Linked DNA regions of Homo sapiens: regions 1, 2, 3 and 4 are each linked to region 5. The links are contacts of gene promoters, found by promoter capture Hi-C in blood cells and fetal thymus (Javierre and others, 2016). All regions are on one chromosome and are shown on one strand. The core of a region is centred on a gene start or on the middle of the fragment in contact, and the rest is flanking DNA. Distances in the headings are between cores, read along the strand shown. Region 1 has its middle 81 kb from the start of MTPN. Region 2 has its middle 100 kb from the start of MTPN. Region 3 has its middle 46 kb from the start of MTPN. Region 4 has its middle 62 kb from the start of MTPN. Region 5 holds the start of FAM180A (family with sequence similarity 180 member A).

Region 1 (2,700 bases), core at 71-2,570, 310 kb before region 5:
TCCAACAAAATCTCATATCCCTCTGCCCTTTGAACATTAATACTCCAGCCACACCTGACTGCTTTCTGTTCATCTGTCTTGCCAGTTTTCCTCCCTCGGACCTTGGCACTTATTTGCTACTTCCGCAAAGAAATACATCCCCCCAGCTCTTTGCATGCCTGGGTCCTTCTCATCCTGTAGGCCTTTGCTCAAACATCACTTTCTCAGAGATACCTTTCCTGATCACCCAATCTAAAATAATGCTTCCCTCAACCCCCTACTTAAAACTCTATCATATTGTCCTCTTTCCTTCTTGTTTATTGAGGCCTTGTTCGCTGCTGTGTCTCATGTCTCAATAGTGTCGAGCACATAGTAGACCCTCAACAAATGATTGTAGATGAATGAATGAATGAATGAATGGATGGATCTATTGGTTTGTGTAATATGTATCACAAAACATCCCTTTTAATGATCCCCACTGTGTTCCATCATATAAATATAACAAACAGTTTAAAATATTCCATTATAACAGGTCAGACAAGAAAGAAATTGAGTAAAGCTGTAAAATGTGGAAAAACAGAAAATGCAAAACCATGCATAAAAAGTTGCCAAATTCACTCCTATTGATTCATCAAAATTGCCTTACCGATTCGTTGAATTGCCTAGACTATCTATTTTCTATGAGGCTGCCTTCAACAAGCACTTTCCAGTACCCCTAAAGCCACTCATTAAAGATATGGATGAAACAAAAGCATAGAATCATAAGCTACTGCTCTTATCACTGTGGACATGCCCCATTAGTAAGTCTTCATTATGGCTCCCCACACCCGACTTCACCAGGGCCACTTGCGTGTCTTCCTTGTTCTGCAGACTGTGTGTCTTGTAAAGTCCCACCTTGATAACTGGTCAGTCTCCCCACAGACTTGCTGGGCAGGCCCTTTGTATCCCTTATATGGCATTTTCCATCTACCATTTAATCATCCAGCAACACCTGGCATTAAGGACAGTTGTTACCTGGCTGGGTAGTGTCAACACAGAGGCTCACACCAAGACAGGCCAGATCTGGCCTCCTACCTACTACCCTTCACTACTCCTGCACCAGAACCCTCTCCTGTTGAAAGGATGGGCTAGATCTTTAACACAGAGCTGCTTCTTTGGTTTGTGTTAAAAGATCTTCTCCAAACCAGCTGAAAAGACCTCTTGTTTCTCTATTAATTCCTTGAAGCTAAGACTTTTCCTTCTAATCTAGCCACTAATCTAAAATATGAGCCCAAGTTGATTTTTTTGTTTATTGTTCACCTCACTTGACCTGCAATTAAAGTGCCTACCAGTTCCATTTTCTCTCAGTTACACATGATTAACCAATGCTGTCTTGAAAATGAATAGGAGCTGAAAGAGGGCTGCCTTTTGACAGAGCTTCCATCCTTCCCTTAGAGGTCCCCAGGTCTGTTTCCAATCAGAGAAATCCACAAGAGATTCTCCCTTGGAATTCTTACTCACATACCACATTCCTGCTGCATTTAATCTTTCTGTTTTTTTTTTAACCTGTAGATTCTCCTAAACTTCTTGGGAAACATGTAATGATATTTAATTTTAATTCTATGGCTGCAATGGATTTTGCTGATTAGAAATGGAGGCTTCTTGATGCAGTACCTTAATCTTCTTTAAAAACAGCTCCTGGAGTTCTCTGCAGCTGTAAATTATAAAAACCAAAGCAGGATTAAAAAATACACATGCACTGTGCATAATTATTTAAAAGTGCAACACATCGGCTTAAACAGTAATATAAATGCATCTTTGAGATAAATGAGGCATTAGTGGTATAAGTTTTGATTATTGGTTACTCTTCTCTGGTTTTAAGATGTGGTAAGAATATAAATCACTCCAAAGGGAAAAATTAACTCATACCTGTCCTGTCACCTCTTGGATCAGGAGATAGACATAATAAACACGATGAATCCTTCTGCTTCTGTTACAATAGGAGGCATTCCCCACCTGACCCATGGCCCCTCTGTTACCTGCCCTCATAGACCACGTCTTTTATTTCAGATTCATGTTTAAATTTATAATTTTATTTGGCACCAGACTATAAATTCTCTCAGGGTGGCCTTGTTGTTATTCTCATCACAATCATACTCCTAGCATAAGGTCACCAAACAATACTAGTTTGCCTGGGACTGTCCCAACTAGGGCACTAAAAGTCTTGCATTCCAGGCAACCCCTCAGTTGCAGGCAAACTGGGACAATGGTTTCCCTATCCTAGCACCACAAACAGCTTTTAAATGAAGGTACAGGCATAACAAGTAGCATATATCATTCCTAAAAGAAATAACATTCATGAACAATAGAATAGTGCAGTGGTCAAGAGCATGACCATGGAACTAGACAACCTGGGTCCAAATCCACGCTCTGCCATTTCCCAATTACGTGATCTTGGATTACTTCATCTCTCTGTGTCTCAGTCTCTTCCTCTGTAAAATGGGAAGTTAATGGTAGCAGCCACAAAAGGACGTTTGAAAATCAAATTAGTTAACGTAGGTAAAGTTGTTAGGTAAAGTTAAGTTGTTAAGAATAGCGCACAACATGTTTTATTAAAATTATGAACACATCTGGCTGGGCACGGTGGCTCATGCCTGTAATCCTAGCACTTTGGGAGGTCAAGGCAGGCAGATCACTTGAGATCAGGAGCTCAAGATCAGCCTGGCCAACATGGTGAAACCC
Region 2 (2,700 bases), core at 79-2,578, 330 kb before region 5:
AGTAATCAAAGAAATGCAGATTAAAATCAAAATGGCCCCATTTTTTACCTATCAAATAAGTTTTTGCTTCTTTGATTATTTCTGTTTTTAATGGTACTACTCAATTCTGGCAAGAATGAGGTAAAATAGATAGTTTAAATACTTTCACAAACTGCTGGTACCAGCACAATTGGTTGGAACACTCTTTCTGAAAAATAATTTGCATATCATTGACTTTAGTTAGAATATACATTTGCACCTAGTAATTCTTCTAGGTATTCCTGGGAATTTCTTAACATATCAACAAAGATTTGTCTCTAAGATGTTCATAGCAACTTTGTGGCAAATAATGGAAGGGCAAGGGAAGACCTAAACAGACATTAGAAAATGTTTAAGCACATTACAGTATATTTATACACTGAAATATTATATAAATCTTTAAAAATGATGTTTATAAAGAATTTTTTATTTCATTGGGAACTACTTACTATATATTGTTTTGCCAAAAAAAAAGGATGCAAAATCTTTTGATGTAAATGCAGCAAATTTTTTAAATGAAAATAAAAAGATTAAAAATAGCTATCCCATGGTGCTGGGGTTATAGGTAATTTTTCTGCTTTTTTTCTTTTTGTTATTAAAATTTTAAGAGCATATATTATTTTAAAAGAAAAACATACAGCAGGGGTTCATAACCTAAGGTTGGTTGATGGATGGGCTTTGGTGTGTCGCTAACTTCTTTAATACAATTATGCAATTTTTATGTGTAACCAAATTTCCCTGGAGGGTGATAGGTTTCAAAGGATTCTGTTATCCAGAATTATTAAAACTTAGTTATTGAAAACTTTTAGAAAGAGGTTTAGAAGAGTCATAATTACATATTACATTTCAAATTTCCCCACATCTTTATATTAAAGAGCTTATATTTTACATATAATGATTTTAAAAATTAAACTTCAGCAATAGTTCGTTTGATATTCAAATGGAAAAACTCTTAAGATACCATGAGTATCTTTCTCATTTAAATTATAACCACTACTAAAACTGTTATTCCATAAATATTTATGGAGCACTTATAAAGGAACACCATGAAGCATAAAAAAACTTTTTCAGATAAGAACTCCAGGTTCAAGGTACACTGAAATAAGATGTACTATATTGTCACATAATGATGTATGTATGTATGTGTGTGTGTATTGTGTGTGCATGTAATTATGTGGGCGTTTATATCTATTCATGCCTTACTTTGTTCAAAAAATATTTAAGGAAGCTTACCAAAGTAAATATAACAACATAGCATAAAATAAAATGTCAAGTAAGTAGGTGAGTCAATTGGGACAAAGGCTAAAATGAGATTGAAAAGGTAAGGTAAAGCCAAGAGTAAGGTCAGTACTCCCAGTTCATGCCAAAGTGTTAAGTTTCCTTATAAGCTTAACAAAGAGGCAACCGTGATCTGTTACATGATTCTTGGTGCCCAGAAGATAAAAAGAAACCAGTCACTCAAGAGAAGCCCGACTACTGCTAGTTCTAACATCGAAGTGCAAGTTCTCCCATGAGTCCTCATAAAGAGGACAGCTTGTAATATAATGAACACTTCACGGGATTACATAATGAACTCCCTCATGTAAAATACTAAGCAAAAGCATGTGTGTCATACTAGGTATCATCAGGACACCTTCACTGGCCAGCCTATTTAAAATTGCAACACCCCAACTCCCTCCCTTGCTTTATTTTTTCCTGTAGCACTTATCATCAACTCTCATTTTCTTTCCCTTTTTGTAATCTGTCTTCTCCCCACTAACTTAAATATAAATAGAATAAACACAGAGATTTTTGCCTATCTCATTCATTGGTATTCCAGGGCTTAGAAGATAATCTTGCATGTAGAAATTGTTCAATACATATTTATTGAATAATGAATACATAAATTATCAACAGCATTATTATTATCATTATTATTGGCAGGATTCACAGAATTCTTTTGCATAATATTCTTCAAGGTAAACAAAGGATAAAGTTAAAATATAATTTACCAAAAGCAAGTCTATAGAAGTCAAAACAATGTGATATAAGACTATAGCTTTCAGCGGTCAAGATACAGACTTCATAATATCTAAAGGAACCCATAAACTGCAAATTTTTAAACAATCCTTCATAAATATAGATTTGATTGTTATGATAAAGCCACAAACTGGGTTTATATTCCCTAAAAGCATTTGGAAAGCAGGTATTCTATGTTCCTGTGAAGTGCACAGCTGTATGATTTGGCTCATCTAAACTGGGTAAGAAATTAGAACGAAGAGACTGAAAAATGACATATGCCTGAAAATAAGTTTTGTCGCCTCCCTGCAGAGACAGGCCAAGGGATAACCCCCAGCCAGAGCCAAGTTCTTTCTCAGAAAAAGATTAGCTGTTCATGTTAACATAAAGGCCGTTAGACAACCATGACACCAAATGTTTCTGCCATAGTTTAATAGCCATACGAATTTTAGCTTAGAAAAAATTTAAAACAAGATAGCCAAATGTTCATCTGAGCCATAAAACATCTTAGTAAGACCTCCATGAGATAACATAACCTTTTAGTATATTCCAGCTGTAAAACATATACTTAAATAAGCAAATAAGCTAACTTGCTAAGTAGATATGTTTTCCACAAGGGGCTTAAATGTCAAGAGATATTTACAAATATAAGAACTTTCATTTGATAATAATTGCTCTGTATCT
Region 3 (2,700 bases), core at 125-2,624, 270 kb before region 5:
ATCCTATCTGATGCCAAGTCCCGTGTGTTTGTTTAATCAGTATATACAAATGAGTCTTAATTAATTGTGTAATAGACAGTCATTAAGATTAATTAATAAGATAAACTATAACATTAGTAACATAAATGAATATGCTTTGCTGTTATTCAATTAACTGAGCTAGGGCTGTTTTTCCAAGAAATGTGGACAAGGCTACCACAGTAACTACTGTACATGTCAATATCATTCCTGGTACAACTTGGGTAAATCGCTATTCACATGTACTTTGTTTTCACATCCATCTTTAAATTCATGGAAGCATTTCTAATAATAGTAATAAGTGGGAAAACAACTTGCAGTTAGGGTTCATGAGGAGCCCAGTTCCTTCCCTCAGGTCTGAAGTGACACTGGCTTCTCCTAAACCAATTGACCAAAGCAGACCACTGTTGAGCCACTGCCTGAGCTGTTACAGGACAGCACTACCCTCTCCATTGCTTTCACAGGGAAGGGGACAGAGCAAAATGATATAAAAAGTGTCTTATCACTTAAGGTCAGTGGTCCTTTCAATTTAGGATTCTGCCTCTAGGAATGGTACCAAGAAGTGGTGTTTGGGACCCCAAGGTGTAGCCTCAGAAAGTGTTAGAAGACAACTCCAAGCACTGTAGCTTTCCTTAGGAACATTAGTATTCTCCATGAGCTTATTTCTTCTTATTTGTCAGGTAACAGTGATGCTTCCTCATCCTAACACATCATCATTTAGTGAGCAAGGCCTTATTCTAGTGAAGGAGTTAAGACTATGACACCCCAAAATACGCTGCTCTAGCATATTGACTATTTTGAAATAAAGGCACTTAAAAAAATAGTAAGTACAAAAAGATCACTCTAATCTCCATTCTGTTTCTTAAAAGCAAGAGACAAAATTCCCACATGAAGGAGGTCCTCCCTATACCAGAAAGAAAGCAACAATCTTATCAAGAATAGAAAGTTGAAGCCTAGGGAAGTTTATACAAGCAAACCTTGTTAAACTAACTCTTATTTTCCTGGTCACGTCTCTACCCAATTAGCTAACCTAGCCCAAGCCCCTTTACTTATCACATTTTCACAACTTGCTTTTCTTTGTCCAATTCAGTATGTAAGCGATGGGCTCTAACTGCTCCTTTGGGTCTTCATTTCCTTATGAGGTCTCCTGTGCCACATAAAGCTTGTATAAAATAAATGTGTGTACTTTTCGTCTATTAATCTAGCTTATGTCAACTTAATTCTTGGGCCCAGCCAGACCCTAAGAGGAAGGAAGTAGAAATTTGCCTCCCCAACACTGGCCACAGCTGAAGGCAGATAGAAGACGGCATCCCAGACCCAGACACCACCAGCCACTCCCCACTGTGGTCCAGAATTGCCCCTTCACCAACCATGCAGAATAGCAAACCTCTTGCCTCATGAGTAACACTAAATAAATAAAGCTCACAATTAATGTTGTAATTACAGCTGGAGGAATAATTTGCAACCTGAGTGTGGTAACTCACCCAGGGTACCAAGAGGCTCATAGTATTTACTTTCCTGATTCTGGAGAGCCCATCCTGTAAAGCTTTGTTGACTTTCCAAATGCTGTGGCTGGGTTTTTTTTTTAATAGATCATTTAAAGAACTCAAGAAGAAACCCATTATGATTGCTTACAGAACTCAATAAAAGACACAAAAACCTTTATATGTGAGTTTTCAATGTGTTTGCCTGGTTTCTCATTTACTTATAGACCCAGAGACTGCTCCAATTCACCATCTTTATGCTCATCTCCCTGTTAACTTTTTCCATTTCCCTGGTGCTAGTCATGGTAATCGGCATGGCTTCTATGTTGAAACCAGCTGCCCTCTAGTTGACTTACCCTGTTCTTTCATTCATTTTTTTTCATTCATTTGTGCTATAAACATTTATTGAGTCCCTACCACAGCCCAGGTCCTGCTAAGTATGTTTATCTGTGTTACTAACTCACTGGGAACATTGAAATCACTTCAAACAGACCCTAATTTTTTATTTAACAATGAATGGAAAATTCAGTTCTATTTTTCCCCAGAATCCCAGTTGACTTTTGAGTTCCCCCTTGGAGCCTCCTTAGAATGGAGTCTAGCTCTGCCCCCTCCTTATGTCATCATCCCTGCTGTTCAAGGAGAACTCAGCAGTTAGAGGATTGTGGATTTTGGCATTGGTCAAATTTGACCCACATTTATCACACTTACCAGATGTAAGAACAGAAACACGTTTTATAAATTCTTCAAGTCTCCATTCACTCATTTACCAAATAGGACAATCACATCTATTTCACAGCATTGTTCAAAGGCTCAAATAAGTTACTACAAGTATGCAAAGAGGCAGCCAATAAATGTTACTTCTCCAATACATATCGCTTTCTTATTTACATGTGCTCCTTATTTATATTCTGTTATATATTCATTCATTGTAATTTAGTGAGCACCTATTTTACATGCTAGGCTGTGAGGAAACAGTGGGAAACAAACTGTCAGGGAGGAAGCACATTCCATGGAGTTGTCTGGAGCAGATAAACTCTATGCAAATAAATATAAAGAGAGCTCAACATTTTTCTACTTTTAAAATAGAGCAGAAAGTGACAGCTTCAAAATTTCTAAATAAGAAGGGCTTAGAGGCCATCTGGATGGAATGGAGACTTGCATTAAGGCTGTATTTGAAAAGCAAGCTAGATTTTTTACT
Region 4 (2,700 bases), core at 14-2,513, 290 kb before region 5:
GCCAGGCGTGGTGGGGCACGCCTGTAATCCCAGCTACTCAGGAGGCTGAGACAGGAGAATCACTTGAACCCCAGAGGCAGAGGTTGCAGTGAGCCAAGATCGTGCCACTGCATTCTGGCCTGGGCAACAGAGCAAGACTCCATCTCAAAAAAAAAAAAAAAAAAAGAAAAGAAAAAAAGAGAAAAAGAAAAATCAAACCACCCTAGCACCCCAGAAAGACAACTGGCATATTTACATTTGGTGGGGGGAGAGGGAGTCTCTTGATGAAGAGGCCAGATGGTCTGCTTTGTAGTAAAGCCCACCATCAACAACCTCCCCACTCACCCCCACCCCACCGCCCCCCCACACACACACAGATGTTCCAATCAGCTTTCAATCTAGAGCTTCACTCATATATGAACAGACAACTCAAGATCATAAATGCTTGAAAAGAAAGACTTCAACATGAAAAGGTGAATTCAAAAGCAATAGCCAAAAAAGAAAAGGATCTTAGAAGAAAGGTAAACAATTAGGTAACACTCAAAACAAACCAAAAAAAATTGCAATTAATATCAGAGAGCTTAGATAATGCATTTGTAAAATAAAAATTGATATTTTTAAAATCATACAACAAGCAGAAGCTCTTAGAACTTAAAACCATGACAACTAGGATGAAATACTTAATAAAAGGAATGGAGAATAATGTCAAAGAAATCTCCCAAAAAGTAGAATCAAAAGGCAAAGAGTTAGGAAACGGGAGAGAAAATACAGGGGACCAACAGCTGACTGCTGGAGTTCTAAAAAGGAACAAAGAACTAGATGAGTAGAAATTATAATAGATACTAGAAGCAATTTTGCAAATTTAAGGGCGTGATCTCAATACTTAAAAGGCCCAGCAAACACCTGCCACAATCATTTTTTGTTAAACCTCCAAATTGCATAATCATGGAGTTAGGGAATAATAGGTATGAAGAGAACGTCATAATTGCATTTGTCAGAGTAGCATCTGACTTTTCTCAAAAGCAACACTGGGTATAGAAGAAAGTGGAGCAATGCTTGTAAAATTCTGCTAGACAGTTATTTTCAACCTAGAATGCTTCCACTAGACAAACAGGGTGTGCTTGTGTAGAAGTCTAATAATAACACACATGAGGAAGCAAGGACTAAAAAACATTACTTCCCATGAGTGCTTTCTAAGGACACTCCTGGAGTACATGCTTTAATAAATTGAGGGAGAAAAATCAAGAGAGGAAGACTGGGAATCCAAAACACACAGGTCATCATTCCTATGTTTTCCTACGCAAGTCATCAGTGAAAGGAAGTGACCCCTGAACAACGGCTGTGCACCAAGTCCGGAGGGCAGCAGGGCCAGCTCAGAGCAGCAAATGGTTACTATGGCACAAGGGTGTAGGGGTGGCAGAGAGTGCAACTGATGATTTTGAATGTTTACATCATTTTTTTCTGAGTGGCTGACAGATATGTTGAAGCATTTAGAAAAAATTATAAAATGGAGAAGGAGGAAGGAATCCTCACTCACCATAACAGGAAGTCAGCAACTACTGACTGAAATCAATCACAAAACAGCAGTAATGGCATATTGTTAGATACATGGAGAAAAACATCAAAAGAATCAGCTAAAGTTATTGAAAGCGGCTGCCTCTGGGAACTACCTAGAACATCCAGCATATTGCATCTTCATCAGAATTATTTCAGTTGCAAGTGATAGAAACTCAAATTAGTTTAAGCAGAAAGAAGAATGTATTAGCTTACTTAGCTTTTAAAAACATGGATCAAGATAGCTAGATTCAGGTTTTCAATAACATTTATATAATATCCGCAAGAAATTGTCTCTTGTTCTCCATGTCTCATCTCTCCATCTCCTGCTTTCTTTTCCCTGGATTGGCTTAACTTTCCGGCAGACTTACCCCATATGGGAACAAAGATGACCTCCTGCAGCTCCAGACTTCCAGGCCCTTAGCTTTCAAACTCTAAGAATGATACAATGGCTCAGTCCTGGTAGTTCTGGCAAAAATCCCAGGACTGGCTCTCATTGATCTGGGTTTGGTCATATGGCCAGCCTTGAAGCAATCTCTTTAGCCAGGATACTTTGATGCTATGATGGGCCTATGTCACATTCTCACCCTTGGAGTCAGAAAAATGAGGTCAGCTCCACCTGATATACATGGACTAAGGAGAGTAGTTCTCCAAAATGAAGTTGGGGTATGCGATAGTTCATTTTATTGTCATTTTTACTGGCAACAACTCAGGTACTCAAATATGTGGCCCAACAGTATTCTAGACGTTTCTGTGAGGTATTTTTTAAATGAGGTTGACATTTACATCAGTAGACTTTGAATAAAGTAGATTATCCTCCATAATGTGGGTGAACCTCATCCAATCAGTCAAAGGCCTAAGGAGAAAAAAACTGATCTCCCCCAAGAAAGAGGGAATTATGCCAGCAGACTGCCTTCAGGCTTAAGCAGCAGTATCAACTTGTTCCTGGTTCTTCAGCCCGCTGGCCTGCCCGGCAGATTTTGGACTTTCTGGCCCTCCACAATCACATGAGTCAATTCCTTAAGATGAAGAGATATATATATATATATATATATATATATACACATATATATATATACATATATATATATGCATACATCCTCTCTGCTTCTATTACTAGATAGAAAATTGATAGACAAAGAAAATCTACTCAGTGATTGATAGTTT
Region 5 (2,700 bases), core at 173-2,672:
GATTCACGTTACATTTCTGTTGGAGAGTGCTGCTGGCTAGTGCCCTAACCTCCTAGTTCGGTGGATGCATTAAATCAGTTAATGCAAGGAGGGCACCTAGCACGCTGTCTGAAGCAAATTAAGCACCTAATAGCTATTATTAATATTAGTGAGCGTACTGGTTTTCAAATGTTGTAGTCTAGTATTTTTTCCCCCAAAAAAACTGGTTGTTTTTTTTTTAATTTTTTTAAGAGGAAAGTTCTTACTCTGTCACCCAGGCTGGAGTAGAGTGTTGTGATCATAGCTCACTGCAGCCTTGAACTCCTGGGCCTAAACAATCCTTCTGCCTCAGCCACCTGAGTGACTAGGACTACAGGCACATGCCACCACGCCCAGCTAATTTTTTAATTTTTTGTAGAGACAGGGTCTATTTTCTCTAGGTTGGTCTTGAACTTCTGGCCTCAAGCAATTCCCCCACTTCGGCCTCCCAAAGTGTTGGGATTACAGGCGTGAACCACCATGCCCGGCTCCCAAACAACTTCTTATAGCAGATAAAAGAGGAGCTTTTGCAGTAGAGTAGAGCTTTGAGGAGCCCTCTTGGGGAGCCCATTCACCCTGGGCACCACCTCCACAAACTGGAAAACCCACAGGATGACATAATCTTTAAGTGTCCTTCAAGCTTTAGCATTCCCTATCATTTCAGAGAAGTTGAGGAAGTGATTGGGAAAGAATTAAGGTGTCTATGGCAGTATATTACAACGACTATGGAAAAACACTCCCATTTTGCTTGGGAAAATCAAAGTGGCTTGGCCCCAGGTCTAGGCACAGCCCAGAAATGGGAGCATCACCAATGTGAGTTGTGGGGCTTGGCCCCAGGTCTAGGCACAGCCCAGAAATGGGAGCATCACCAATGTGAGTTGGGGGTCCCCGTGGGCTCCTGGATCATTACCTACGCACGTTCACACAGACAATACCGATGCACCATGTCACCTCTCCACTTCGGCTCGGTCACAACCTGCCAACTCCCCACCCACCCAGAACCTGGGCAGACCAGACACAGGCTCTAGGCGCCAATGTCCTAGTCTAGCTCCAGGGCCAGGCAACAGTGACACTCAGCCCAGGCACCACAATGATTTTGCTGTCCTGAAGGCAACTTAGGCTCAACCAGCCCTGGTGTCTGCCAGGCAGGCTCCCAACTCTGCCTCCAGCCCTCGCCCCTGGCTCTGGTATCGTATGTGTGGACGGGGAGAGCAGCCAACTCTTCGCCGGGCTCTCTAACAAGTTCCGCGGGTCTGTTTGTTAAAGAAAAATTCCAGTGGGTGCATCCAACACATGGAACTCAAGTACAGAAATTATATTTATCCGCCCCACTGCCAAGGAGATCACATGCCCCGTGAGTCACTCCAGATGTGCTCAAAAACAGAGTCTCTCTGTGGAAGGCCAGTTCCCCAATCCCAGAGAGCGTCAAATGAAGAGAGGTACCGACTCCTGTCCCACCCAGGACGCAGCCTTCAGCCTCCAGCCTTCTGAGGCAGAGTAGGCATTTCTGCACGTCTGCAAAAGGAAGGGAGGGAAGCACTCCATCATCTCACTGGGAAGAACGGCACGGGCATACCTGCAGCTACTGGGGTTCCACTGGGCTTGAGGGTCGATTTTTCACCTTTTGAAGGACAAGATGCATTGGAAGATGTTGCTGCTTCTGCTGTTGTATTACAATGCTGAGGCTTCTATGTGCCACAGGTGGAGCAGGGGTGAGTTGCTTTTTATTCATTTGTTTGTTTGATGCTCATTATACTTTCTTCAATGCAATTCAAAATTTGGAGGGAAGGACATTAGAAGCCCCGCACTCTCCTTTTGTCTAATCTCTGTCAATTCCTTGATGCTTCTTGACGTGTTCCCCCTTCTTAGAGGGTGATGGGGAAATGACACTGGAAAAAATCAAAGCTCCTGAGGGAATTAGGTTGAGGTGGAGAACCCAGAGAGTACCCCTTTCTGGCATCCCAGAGAGAACTCATTTCTGCTTCATAGAAAGTAGAACTCATTTCTTCGACTGCCCCCACCACCTGCAGCAGTTGGGCCAGACCGTCTGGAGAGCAGGTGCTGAGACCTGCTGCTAAAATGATGGAGTGATGGGCACTGGGATGCCAAAGGCCTGCTCCCTGGGGGAACCAGAGCAGAAGCTCTGCAGAACGTTGCCTCCTCACCGGGAGGGGATGCATCTCTGCAGCCAGAGGTGGGCAGGTGAGGAGAGCAACCCTTCAACCTCCACTGCACCCACCAGCTCCGCCACCTCCTCACAAAGGAAGGGGCCCCAGCAAAGGCTGTTCTCTTATCACTGACTTCCTCCCCCTCAGGATGTAGTTCCTCCTAGCTGGATGGCATCTTTTCTCCATTTCCCTGGGAGTGGCTCTGCTTGGTAGACACTGGGAGCACCTCGAGCCAGAGTTTATCACTGTTAGGAAAGGAGGGACCCACGGCACTGCCCACTCTTCACCAATATGAACGGAAATCTTTCCACTGCCTAAAGTCAACTGAGTTCACTCTCCTAGAAAGAACCGCAAGAAGAACAGGCTCCTTCAAGTCAGGCCAGTAGGTGTTTCTAGAGATGCAAAATTGGAAGGCAACTGGCATGGTGGCATGGATGCGCCTCCTGCTTGCTTCTCAAGGACAGTGTCAGGGAAGGAAGGAGTGGCCGGAGTGGGGATAGAGCAGCGCGAGAGA

What was found. Contacts are between HindIII fragments. The CHiCAGO score rates a contact against its expected background, and 5 or more counts as called.
Region 1: a contact is called between a fragment that was not itself captured here and the fragment with the promoter of FAM180A in region 5, in 1 of 17 cell types (total CD4 T cells). The highest score is 5.9, in total CD4 T cells.
Region 2: a fragment that was not itself captured here is called in contact with the fragment with the promoter of FAM180A in region 5 in 1 of 17 cell types (total CD8 T cells); the score reaches 5.0 in total CD8 T cells.
Region 3: a contact is called between a fragment that was not itself captured here and the fragment with the promoter of FAM180A in region 5, in 2 of 17 cell types (activated CD4 T cells and neutrophils). The highest score is 5.7, in activated CD4 T cells.
Region 4: a contact is called between a fragment that was not itself captured here and the fragment with the promoter of FAM180A in region 5, in 1 of 17 cell types (neutrophils). The highest score is 5.1, in neutrophils.

The regions. Positions count from the first base shown.
Region 1 is chr7:136,057,438-136,060,137 of GRCh38, reverse strand. It overlaps a transcript of LOC105375523 not described here. Among named protein-coding and RNA genes, the nearest start is that of MTPN, 81 kb to the right of the region's middle. RefSeq lists an enhancer at 1-2,258. The HindIII fragment of the contact is 6,518 bases long and covers 1-2,700 here.
Region 2 is chr7:136,078,556-136,081,255 of GRCh38, reverse strand. It overlaps a transcript of LOC105375523 not described here. Among named protein-coding and RNA genes, the nearest start is that of MTPN, 100 kb to the right of the region's middle. The HindIII fragment of the contact is 160 bases long and covers 1,249-1,408 here.
Region 3 is chr7:136,022,452-136,025,151 of GRCh38, reverse strand. It overlaps a transcript of LOC105375523 not described here. Among named protein-coding and RNA genes, the nearest start is that of MTPN, 46 kb to the right of the region's middle. The HindIII fragment of the contact is 384 bases long and covers 1,183-1,566 here.
Region 4 is chr7:136,038,416-136,041,115 of GRCh38, reverse strand. It overlaps a transcript of LOC105375523 not described here. Among named protein-coding and RNA genes, the nearest start is that of MTPN, 62 kb to the right of the region's middle. The HindIII fragment of the contact is 4,729 bases long and covers 1-2,700 here.
Region 5 is chr7:135,747,535-135,750,234 of GRCh38, reverse strand. It overlaps FAM180A (family with sequence similarity 180 member A), which reads left to right and starts at 1,422. Exons shown (of 4, transcript NM_205855.4): 1 at 1,422-1,730. The coding sequence starts at 1,655. The HindIII fragment of the contact is 5,471 bases long and covers 661-2,700 here.